Regions from separate parts of the Homo sapiens genome. Here regions 1 and 2 are each linked to region 3. Evidence: promoter capture Hi-C in 16 types of primary human blood cells and fetal thymus (Javierre and others, 2016). All regions are on one chromosome and are shown on one strand. Each heading gives the region's core, a stretch centred on a gene start or on the middle of the fragment in contact. The rest is flanking DNA. Distances are from core to core; before and after follow the strand shown.

Evidence for each region. Contacts are between HindIII fragments. The CHiCAGO score rates a contact against its expected background, and 5 or more counts as called.
Region 1: a contact is called between a fragment that was not itself captured here and the fragment with the promoter of AK4 in region 3, in 1 of 17 cell types (M0 macrophages). The highest score is 5.3, in M0 macrophages.
Region 2: a fragment that was not itself captured here is called in contact with the fragment with the promoter of AK4 in region 3 in 1 of 17 cell types (M0 macrophages); the score reaches 5.4 in M0 macrophages.

What each region holds. Positions count from the first base shown.
Region 1 is chr1:66,345,307-66,348,131 of GRCh38, reverse strand. The region is part of intron 8 of PDE4B (phosphodiesterase 4B); the gene reads right to left. Among named protein-coding and RNA genes, the nearest start is that of SGIP1, 190 kb to the left of the region's middle. The HindIII fragment of the contact is 1,704 bases long and covers 592-2,295 here.
Region 2 is chr1:66,371,670-66,374,767 of GRCh38, reverse strand. PDE4B (phosphodiesterase 4B) reads right to left here. Exons shown (of 17, transcript NM_002600.4): 17 at 194-2,455. The coding sequence ends at 2,090. Among named protein-coding and RNA genes, the nearest start is that of SGIP1, 160 kb to the left of the region's middle. RefSeq lists enhancers at 312-491, 1,438-1,487, 1,858-1,947. The HindIII fragment of the contact is 276 bases long and covers 1,612-1,887 here.
Region 3 is chr1:65,146,562-65,149,455 of GRCh38, reverse strand. AK4 (adenylate kinase 4) reads right to left here and starts at 1,253. Exons shown (of 5, transcript NM_013410.4): 1 at 904-1,253. The coding sequence starts at 1,048. RefSeq lists enhancers at 1-4, 5-723 and silencers at 317-596, 657-956, 1,337-1,836, 1,847-2,086. The HindIII fragment of the contact is 4,960 bases long and covers 1-2,894 here.

The DNA of each region.
Region 1 (2,825 bases), core at 194-2,693, 1.2 Mb before region 3:
AACATTTCGCAGCTAGAAGCTCTACAACTTATAGTATTTTTCAGCAATCAGAACACTTACTGTGGATCAGACCCACAGACCATCCAGTCTAGTGTCCTTTCCTGACTAGTGAAAAATAACACCTATGTTTTAGGACCTTCATATCTGACATGAAAGTAGTTACACAGAACAGGGAAACTACCACTCAAATATTATACTTTCTTTTCATAACCCTTACGTATTGGTCATGATTCTCTTTAAGAAGTTAATTCCATTTTCAGTCTATAGTACCTCTTAGGTTGTTTTAAATCCTGCCTTATTGAAGTTTCTAATATTTTTTGCAGCTACAAAAATCTATCATAGCTTGTTTTTGAGATTATTACTCTACCCCTTAAAAATACCATGTAGAATACATTGTATTTATTATTAATTGTATTGATTTCAGCTAGTGACTTTCATACATCCCTTGAGGTAAAAGACAATGGAATGCTTCAAAACCTGCCTTGGGAATTGCCACTTCTAGATTAGCGATTTCTCAGGGCTGGGACAGCCTATTAATCTGGCAATTTTCAAGATCAACTCTAGGGCCTATCAAAAAAATAAAAGAAAGCTTTGGACTACATAGATCTATCCTTTCCTTCCCTGAAAGCATATATATTATTATCTGTTTTGATATTTCAGTAATCCCTAAGCTAGAGTATGCACCGGCAAATTGAGGAAAATTTGTAACAGGTTGGAGGTTTGCACACATAAACTATTAACTAAAACTATAAAAGATGAAAATAGTTTCATAACATAAAATAGACATAAATTTCATAGACAGCTATTTCTTATGCAATTTTATCCTATTAAAAAAGGTAGTTGGGCTTGTTATGTATTTTGTGTTTTCCATTATTAGCTATCATAATTTAGAAGAGATGGAGAGATGCTTTGAACAACAATGCACCTCAAGATGCATAGGTTTGTTAGGTTCACGGAAGGTTTATAGAGGCAGCTTCTACTGCAAACATGAAGTAGAGGGAGTGCTGGTTGCAGGTTTGCCTTACCAGTGACCTCAGCTAACCCAACGTCATAACAGCATGATATAGGAGCATCTGAGGATTCAACTGAGTCCGGAAATAAAATATGACATAGGAGCATCTGAGAATTCAACTGAGTCTGGAAATAAAATATGTACTGTAACTTAGTCTGAGAAACTTAGCAAGTCATTGAGTCTCTTAGAGACTAGAATTTTCTATCTTTGAAATGGGAAGATTAGGAATAACATATGTGAAGTGGCTGCCAAGGTGTCTGAGACCAAGTGTGTGCTCTTTCTTCCACAGGATTTGTACTTGAAGCTAGGTTTTATCTGTAAATTTCAAAATAATCTGAGCTCATGGTACCTTTCTCACTTTGGCTTTGCTTTTGGGTGGAAGTTTCAGTTGGTTCTTTGATACTTGAACACCTTCTTTTCATTGTTGACAGCAGCATATATAATTAATTACAGAATTCCCATAGCATGCTGCTGCAGGTGTGATGCACTACTATGTCACATAGATTATGTGACACATGAGTTACTCATAGAAGTTCAGACTCTCTGGTTGACATTTAGATTATTCACCAGTCTAAGGAGCGTAAACAAGAATTGCCAGAAAGATAGATGAAGCAAGTCAAATGAAAAGCACCATAACTCAAAATGGTCTTATGCTTAAGTTAAACCGTAAAAAAAGAGTCTATTTGGAGAAATCCAGCTGTTGGTAACTATCCATTCATGCTTCTTTGGTTTAGCCAATTTTCTCAAATTAAGACACTTTACAACTTTTTATCTATTGACTAAAAGCTGTGACTGACCACAGACTACCTGACATGAGGATAACTGCACCAAGTATGCATTTTGCTCAGATTTTCACAGTTAAGATCAATGTGGTAACACATATGAATTAATTGAATATGTGGCTCAGGTGAGAGGAGTGTCACCAATATGCCAGGAATGAAAAACATAACCAAATGATGGCAGATAATTAGGCTGCTATTCTCCAACAGATATGGAGAGTGGCTGAATTACAAACACATGTGCTCATAAATAGGCTCCCCAGAGAGTGTGGAATAGCCATTGCTAGTCTCCAAAGGGCTTAGATTCTTGTCCACAGGATGCAGACTTTTTGAGAGAATAGTAAGCCAAATATTGCAAAACTGAACCAAAAGCCAACCGAACAAACAAAAACCCCAACCAAAACCATGCTTCACATTTCTGCTCACAGGAAGAAAGCACTGGTCCCTGACAACTTTGTTCTTTGTTATCTGACTCTGGATGAAAGAGAAGGGTAGGAATAAGCTTTCCCTTTTTTCAGGGTACTTTGGGGGTCATTGGGAACCAGATGAGGGTTTCTCATGCAACCTAACAATTAGAAAGCTGGAATTAGGCATGGCAGGCCCCTACATGTAGCCATTGCCGCACAACAGGAAACAGGATTCCAGGGTTCTAATGGATTTATCACTAACAAATACTTGGTCTTGGACAAATTAGATTAAGTTTCTGAACCTCATGCAATTGATCAAAAAATATTTATTCTAATGCCTACCATGTGTCTACAGCTAGTGTAACTGCTGGGGCTTCACTAGTGAACATGGTAGACACAATTCATGTCTTCAGTAACTTTACAGTCTAATGAAAGATATCAGTAAAAACCAAGTTCCATGATCAAAACCAAAAACCATAAATTGTGATAGTAAATTGCAAAACCAACAAGCAGCTGAATTAGGGTAATAAAAGAAGGTCTTTCTAAGAGGTGATATCTAAACTGAGGTCTGAAAAACAAGACTTCGCTGATTTCTAGCTTTAAAATTCTGTGATGATATGTTTTGTT
Region 2 (3,098 bases), core at 500-2,999, 1.2 Mb before region 3:
GAACAGTTGCTAAGAAAAAAGCGAAATGTTCCAAACTAGGGGACTTTTTGGACATAGATTCTGAAACTTCAGTTGTGATGTTGGCTGGACACAGTGGTTGGCTTTCTTTGTGGGGAATGGCACAAGAGAAGAGAAAGATCTGCTTTTCATATGTCAGAACTAATTGTGAAATAAGTGGGCCTACAGACTAATCTAATCATGCTTTTCTTTATTCACCTCATATAAAAGTCTCTTTAGAATGCATTTGAACACAATATATAATAATAATACTATAACATACATTGTGAGAAACATTTGAAAATGATAAAATGTCCACCTGAAACAATGCAGTGTTCATAGACATACATTGGTCATGCACATTTGTGCCATTTTCTGTAATTACTGAGTCACAATGCTGAACTGAAAGCATGAAACATATTTTACAAACTGAAACTGACATCAGTAAGAGGCCTAACAAGTGTTATCAGAAGAGGCTTCACATTTGCGTAATTTGCTACATCAGTTCACATTTTATTATAAAAATTCACATTGTTTTATTGTTTTCTTTTGTAATGAACTGGAACATGACATTCCTGCTTAATGGCAGGCAGGAGGCTACCTCTTCAAAGTCAGTAGTTCGGGAGCATTCAGAAGAATCATCTGTGAGCAAATGTAGTGTTTCCTTTTGAACCAAAGCCACAATGATAGTAGGATCCAGTTATAACCCAACTCATGCCCACATAGATTTGGATAGAACCTGGGTAAAAACTACATCCCATTGCCCCCTGCCCCTATCAAGCTATACAAAAGTAAAAGCTCAGTATAAACCATTTAGTATCTAATGTGAGAATATTGTTTCCAAAACTGGTTCATAAAGGGGTTGTGCAGAAGTAGCAACTCAGGCAGGGAAAGGGCAGACCCTTTGAACAAAAGCCCACCCCTGTCCTCTCTGCCAAGGGGGCCATATGTCTCTACTAAGTGACGTTTGGGTTATATAATACACAATACAAAACATTACAAGAAAAAGTCGTAACTCTTAGGCAGAGTTTTCTACACAAATTTAACACCACCATTGGCAGGCAATGTTAGATATATAAATTAATAACTTACAAAACATTACATTATATACATTAAGTAATAAATACACGGTTATAAACAGGAATGGAGGTGTTAGCGCAGAAGGCAGTGCAAGAGAAGGACGGCAGCATTACATTGAAAACAGCCTAACGGGGTGAAGAGAGGAGGTAGGGAACAGGGCCAGGGACTGTACAACTCCTGTGGGGGGCAGGGTCCAAGACACAGCAGGGCACACTGCTGAGTTCTATGCAGACTCTCACGGTGAACGACACCACTGCTCCTTTCTACCCCCTAATTTGTTCAATTTTATTCTGTTTACAGCAAAAAGTTAAAAGTACTGTTGGAGGCAGGCAAACAGAGAGAAGTTTTAAGAGTGACTGTGGAGTTGGACTGGACAACAGGGGAAGGAAGTAAAATGTGGTTAGAAGTGTATCCTTTCTGTCTGTTTGCAAAAGTAACTGTAGTAAAGTGAAGGATATTGCCCAAGAAAGAAGGAAGACTATTTTCTTTCCCTTTTCCAGAAAGAGTCAAAAAAGTTTGTCAACTTTGAAAGCTTATCTGTGTAGAAGTTGATACTAAACTCCAGGTATTCAACAGGCATTTTAAAGACATGAAAATGTTTTACAAAAAAGGCACACAGGTTGGCAGACAAAGGGACAAGTGAGAAGATTCATAAATGAAGTTATTAGTCAGTGAGTTCAGTCACTGTCGGGGATAAGTTCCCGAAACTTAGTGCAGAATGATCTCTCAGTTTTGTGTCTTCCATTTTCAAGCCATGTGTCTTGATCAGAATCGGCCCCCAGCAACAGCTTCAGCCCTCTCCACCAAGCTTGCCATCAAGGCAAGTCAACCGTGGGATTTCCTGAGCTGCTATTTGCTTCCTGGTCTTGCTTTCTGACTCCAAACTCAAGTAACTGAAAGGCCAGGTGGCCCTTGTCCTGTGCAGGTCTTGGCCCCCATGGTGGGCTGGCCCTACCACATAGCTGGCATGCTCATCAAGGATAGAATGTTCATCTCCACAGGGAGAGGGGGATTATGTATCCACGGGGGACTTGTCTTCTGTTGCAATGTCTATGTCAGTCTCTCCCAGGGAATCTCTGTTTTCTGGATCAATCACACAAAGCGTCTTTGTGCTGCTGAAATAGCTGTGTCCCTCTCCCTCCTTCTCAGGTCCTTCAGAATCTTCCTCATCGAGAGTCAGTTCAAACTGAAACTTCTCCATCAGACCCTGGCAGTCCCTGTTCTGCTCGTCCAGTGGTGGTGAGGGACTTTGAGGTATCATGCTCTGATACCAGTTCCTGTTATCTTCTAAGGTATCGAGAATGTCCTGAGCATCAGGCTGTACCAAATCTGCCCATGTCTCCCACAATGGATGGACAATGTAGTCGATGAAACCAACCTGGAGAAAAATAAGATGACACATCTGTTATTGTGATGGTGCTTGAAAAGTAAACAAGGTTTCCTGGTTTCCATGCAAAGAAAGAACATTAATAACTTCAGAAAGATCAATCATAATGGATTCCATGATTTGGGCACTCACAATACAGTGGGTCTTACACTGAATGCAATCGATGTATTCTCTCTTAATCCTGGAAGGTAAGTATTGCTGTTTACTATTTACAAAGGCAGAAACTACGACTTATTGAGATTAAATATCTTGTCAGAGGTCACATAACTAGTGACTGGTGGAGCTGGGACTCAGTCCCAGCTTCATCTGATTCCAAAGCCCGTGTTCATCTTGCTACAACAGACTGCATTTCCTTTTATGTGCGCCAGATAAGAAGTCTGGATGGAATCCTCATGATTTCCAGGGACCCAAAGACAAAGAATGACTTTGCCACTACTTGGATTCTGTGAGTCATTTTCTGAAGAAGGCAGGCCCAGGTCTAACGTGTTTTGACTCAATATTTTTTCCTTGTTAACTTTAAAATATGTTGCTATTCCAAAGTGATGAGGAGCTGGCTCCTGACTACTCTGGAATTTCTCAAGTTCTGTGGAATGCTTTTGGCTGGTAGAGGAGTTTGATGAAACACGTGAAAATA
Region 3 (2,894 bases), core at 4-2,503:
CTCGCAGCAGCACAACCGCTACCTCTCGCCTTTTAACGCCAATTCTTTCGGAACTGGTGTGAACGTGGAGTGGGAGGAGAGGGGGAAAGGGACGCACTCAACCCCGTCAGACTAAGAAATCAGGCGATCTATATATCCCCAAGTTCACCACGCCAGCCAAAGGAGGCATCTCATGCCAAGGGAGGCAGCTCAAGAAGCCATTTCCAGGAAAGCTGCATTACAAAATGTAATTTATCAGAACGAGTCTCCTCCGAGTCTCCTGACGGCCAGGCCCGGCGGCTTCGGGAGGGGGGGGAGTTGCTGGGGAGAGTTTACCTTAGAAGGCGACAACGAACAGACAGGCCTTTCAAAGCCACCCAGGGCTCTGCCCCGAGGCCCGAGGCTGCGTGGAGGGGCTGGAGAGGCGCGAGGCTGCGAGCCCCCCGGCGCCACAGGTTCCCCGGCGCGCGGCCCCGCCCGACTGCCACAGGTGGGCGGCGCTCCGCCTCTGGGCTCCCGCGGGAGGGGGCGCGCGGCTCTCTAGGGACTCGGGGGAGGGGGCCAGGGCTAAGGGGTACGGGGACGGCTCTGCCTTAAGGAGGGCAGCGTGAGACGGAAGCTCCGGGTTTTCCCTGCCTAGTTCTCGTTCCCTCGGCCGGGTGGCTCGGGCTATTCCTCGCGACAGGAGGAGCGGTGGAGAGGAGCCGTGGGCACCTCCCACCGGCCGCCCCTGGAGCCTCGGCCTCCTCCCCAGGCGCGGTTAAGCCGCGCGGCCGCCAGCTGCATGCGCCCCGGCACGTACGAGCCTGCACGACCACACGCGGGCGGGGGAAGGGCGCCGTGATCCGGGAGCCCCAGTCCCTCCAGGGCCTCACCCCAGCCCAACGCGGCTCGCCCCCGGCCCTCGTCCCCGCAGCCCCTCACCGGTGCTGGCCTTGATGTTCTCCCGCAAGAAGTGGCCGCTGGAGAGATGCTGGAGACCAAAGTTCTGGGCGATCCTCTGGCACACGGTGCCCTTGCCCGAGCCGGGCGGCCCGAGGATGACCGCGCGCAGGAGTTTGGAAGCCATTGCCTTCGCGAGGAGGGGGGCGGTCAAACGCGCAGCCCCGACCGCGGCCCCGGAGGAAGCCCCGGGAACTTTGTTTCTCGGCCCCCTACCTCTGGCACCCTCCGCTCTCACTGGGACTCGCCGGCCGCCCCTACAGGGGGAAGGAGAGACTTTTAAGACAACCCCTCCCCTCAGCCCAGCGCCGGGACCGAGTAGCAGGCGGACTGAGCGCCACGCTACACCTCCCCGCCCTTCTCCACCTCCTCGCCCTCCTCCACCTCCTCGCCCCCACGCAAAGCTGCTGAAGCGCGCCGTGCCCCGCCCTGCCGACTCGGCCTCCAGGGGTCAGAGGTCGGCCCGGCCAGTCCCACCTTCATCCTTAACTCCAGCTCGCTCCCCACGCCGCGTCCGAGAAGGGGGCCGGGCGGCCAGGCATCCCCAAGCCAGTCTCCGCCGAGCCGGGGAAGCTGGCACAAGCGGGGGTGACTCAAAGCCAGCCCCCGCCGCCCCACGCACCGGGCGGCCTAGGGGCTGAGCCCCTGCCCGGTCCTCGCACGTGGGCAACGTGTGGTCTGCGTCTCGTCCCCTCCCCGGCGGCTGTCACATCCCCCGGAGTCTCAGCTGCCGCCGCTGCCCGCCGCCCGCGCGCGCTCGGAGGGGCCCACCTCCGCCCGGGGTTGGCGGATGCGCTCCCCGGCCATGGGGCGCGCGACGAGCCCGAGCCCCGCGCCTCGCCACCAAAAGCAATCAAATAAACACACACCTTGGCTGGAGGCAGCACTCCGAGAGGCTTCCAGCCCGGATCCTGCAGGGCGGCGCCGCCTCCGCCCGCCCAGTCGCGGAGCCCCGGCCGGCCGCGCGGGACTCGCGCCTTACGTAAGCCCGGGAGACCGGCTCCGCGCGAGCCGCTGGCCGCCGCCCCCTCCCCTCCACTCCACTCCACTCCCACCCAGCCTGCCTGGCCCACGTGCTCCCTGCGACCCAGCGAGGGCTGCGGGGGCGAAGCGAGGTGCAGACCACGCGAGGTAGAGAAACCCCTTTTTTTCTTTCGCGGTCGCCTGGGGACCGCGGTCTACTGCAAGGGAAGGGAAAAATACAACTTGTTGAGCGCCTACTGTGCGCCAAGTTTGCGGCTAGGTGATTTCATTGTGTTTACAGCCGAGGAATGGAGCGTGACCATTCATTCATTGATTCATTCTGCAAATGTTTATTGAGTGCCTACTGTGTGCCAGAAACTATTCTAGGCGCTTAGGATCTAGCCGTGAACAACAGATCGAATCCTGCTCTCAAGAAATTGCGTCCTAGCGGGAGGCTGGAACCCAAGACTGACTGACTCCAAAGTCTAGGCGCCTTAGGGAACAGGGAAGAAGGGGATGTCCCTCACCTGTGTTCAGGACCTTCTTGGTAAATGATTCCAGGACTTCCATGCGCATTATGCTGGTGCTGCACCTATAACTCACCAAGTCCAAATGGAGTCTGTCTTCCCCCACTCCACCCTCCCCTGCATATCCCAATCCACATTCTGTTAGATCTGTGCCCACCTTACACACAGCCTTTAATTTCCCACCCCAACTAGTGGGATAAGTGCCCATAAGACTCCAGTTTCTGTGCCATTCCATTTTCCGTGCAGCTGCCAGGAATACTGATAAAGTGAAAATCAATATTTATTATTTCCCGGCCTCAGATATTGTCTTCCCTTCAGGATAAAGTGAAAAATCTTCAGCAGGGGCGCAGAGATGCCTTCCGTACACCTTTGCATTCTGCAGGCCCCCTCCTCTGCCTTCCTTCCACAGGCCACCTGCCTTCAGGAAATCTGTTGCAGAGTTCCCAGCACCAATACCCAGGACTCAGAGAAGGTGAGGGACAC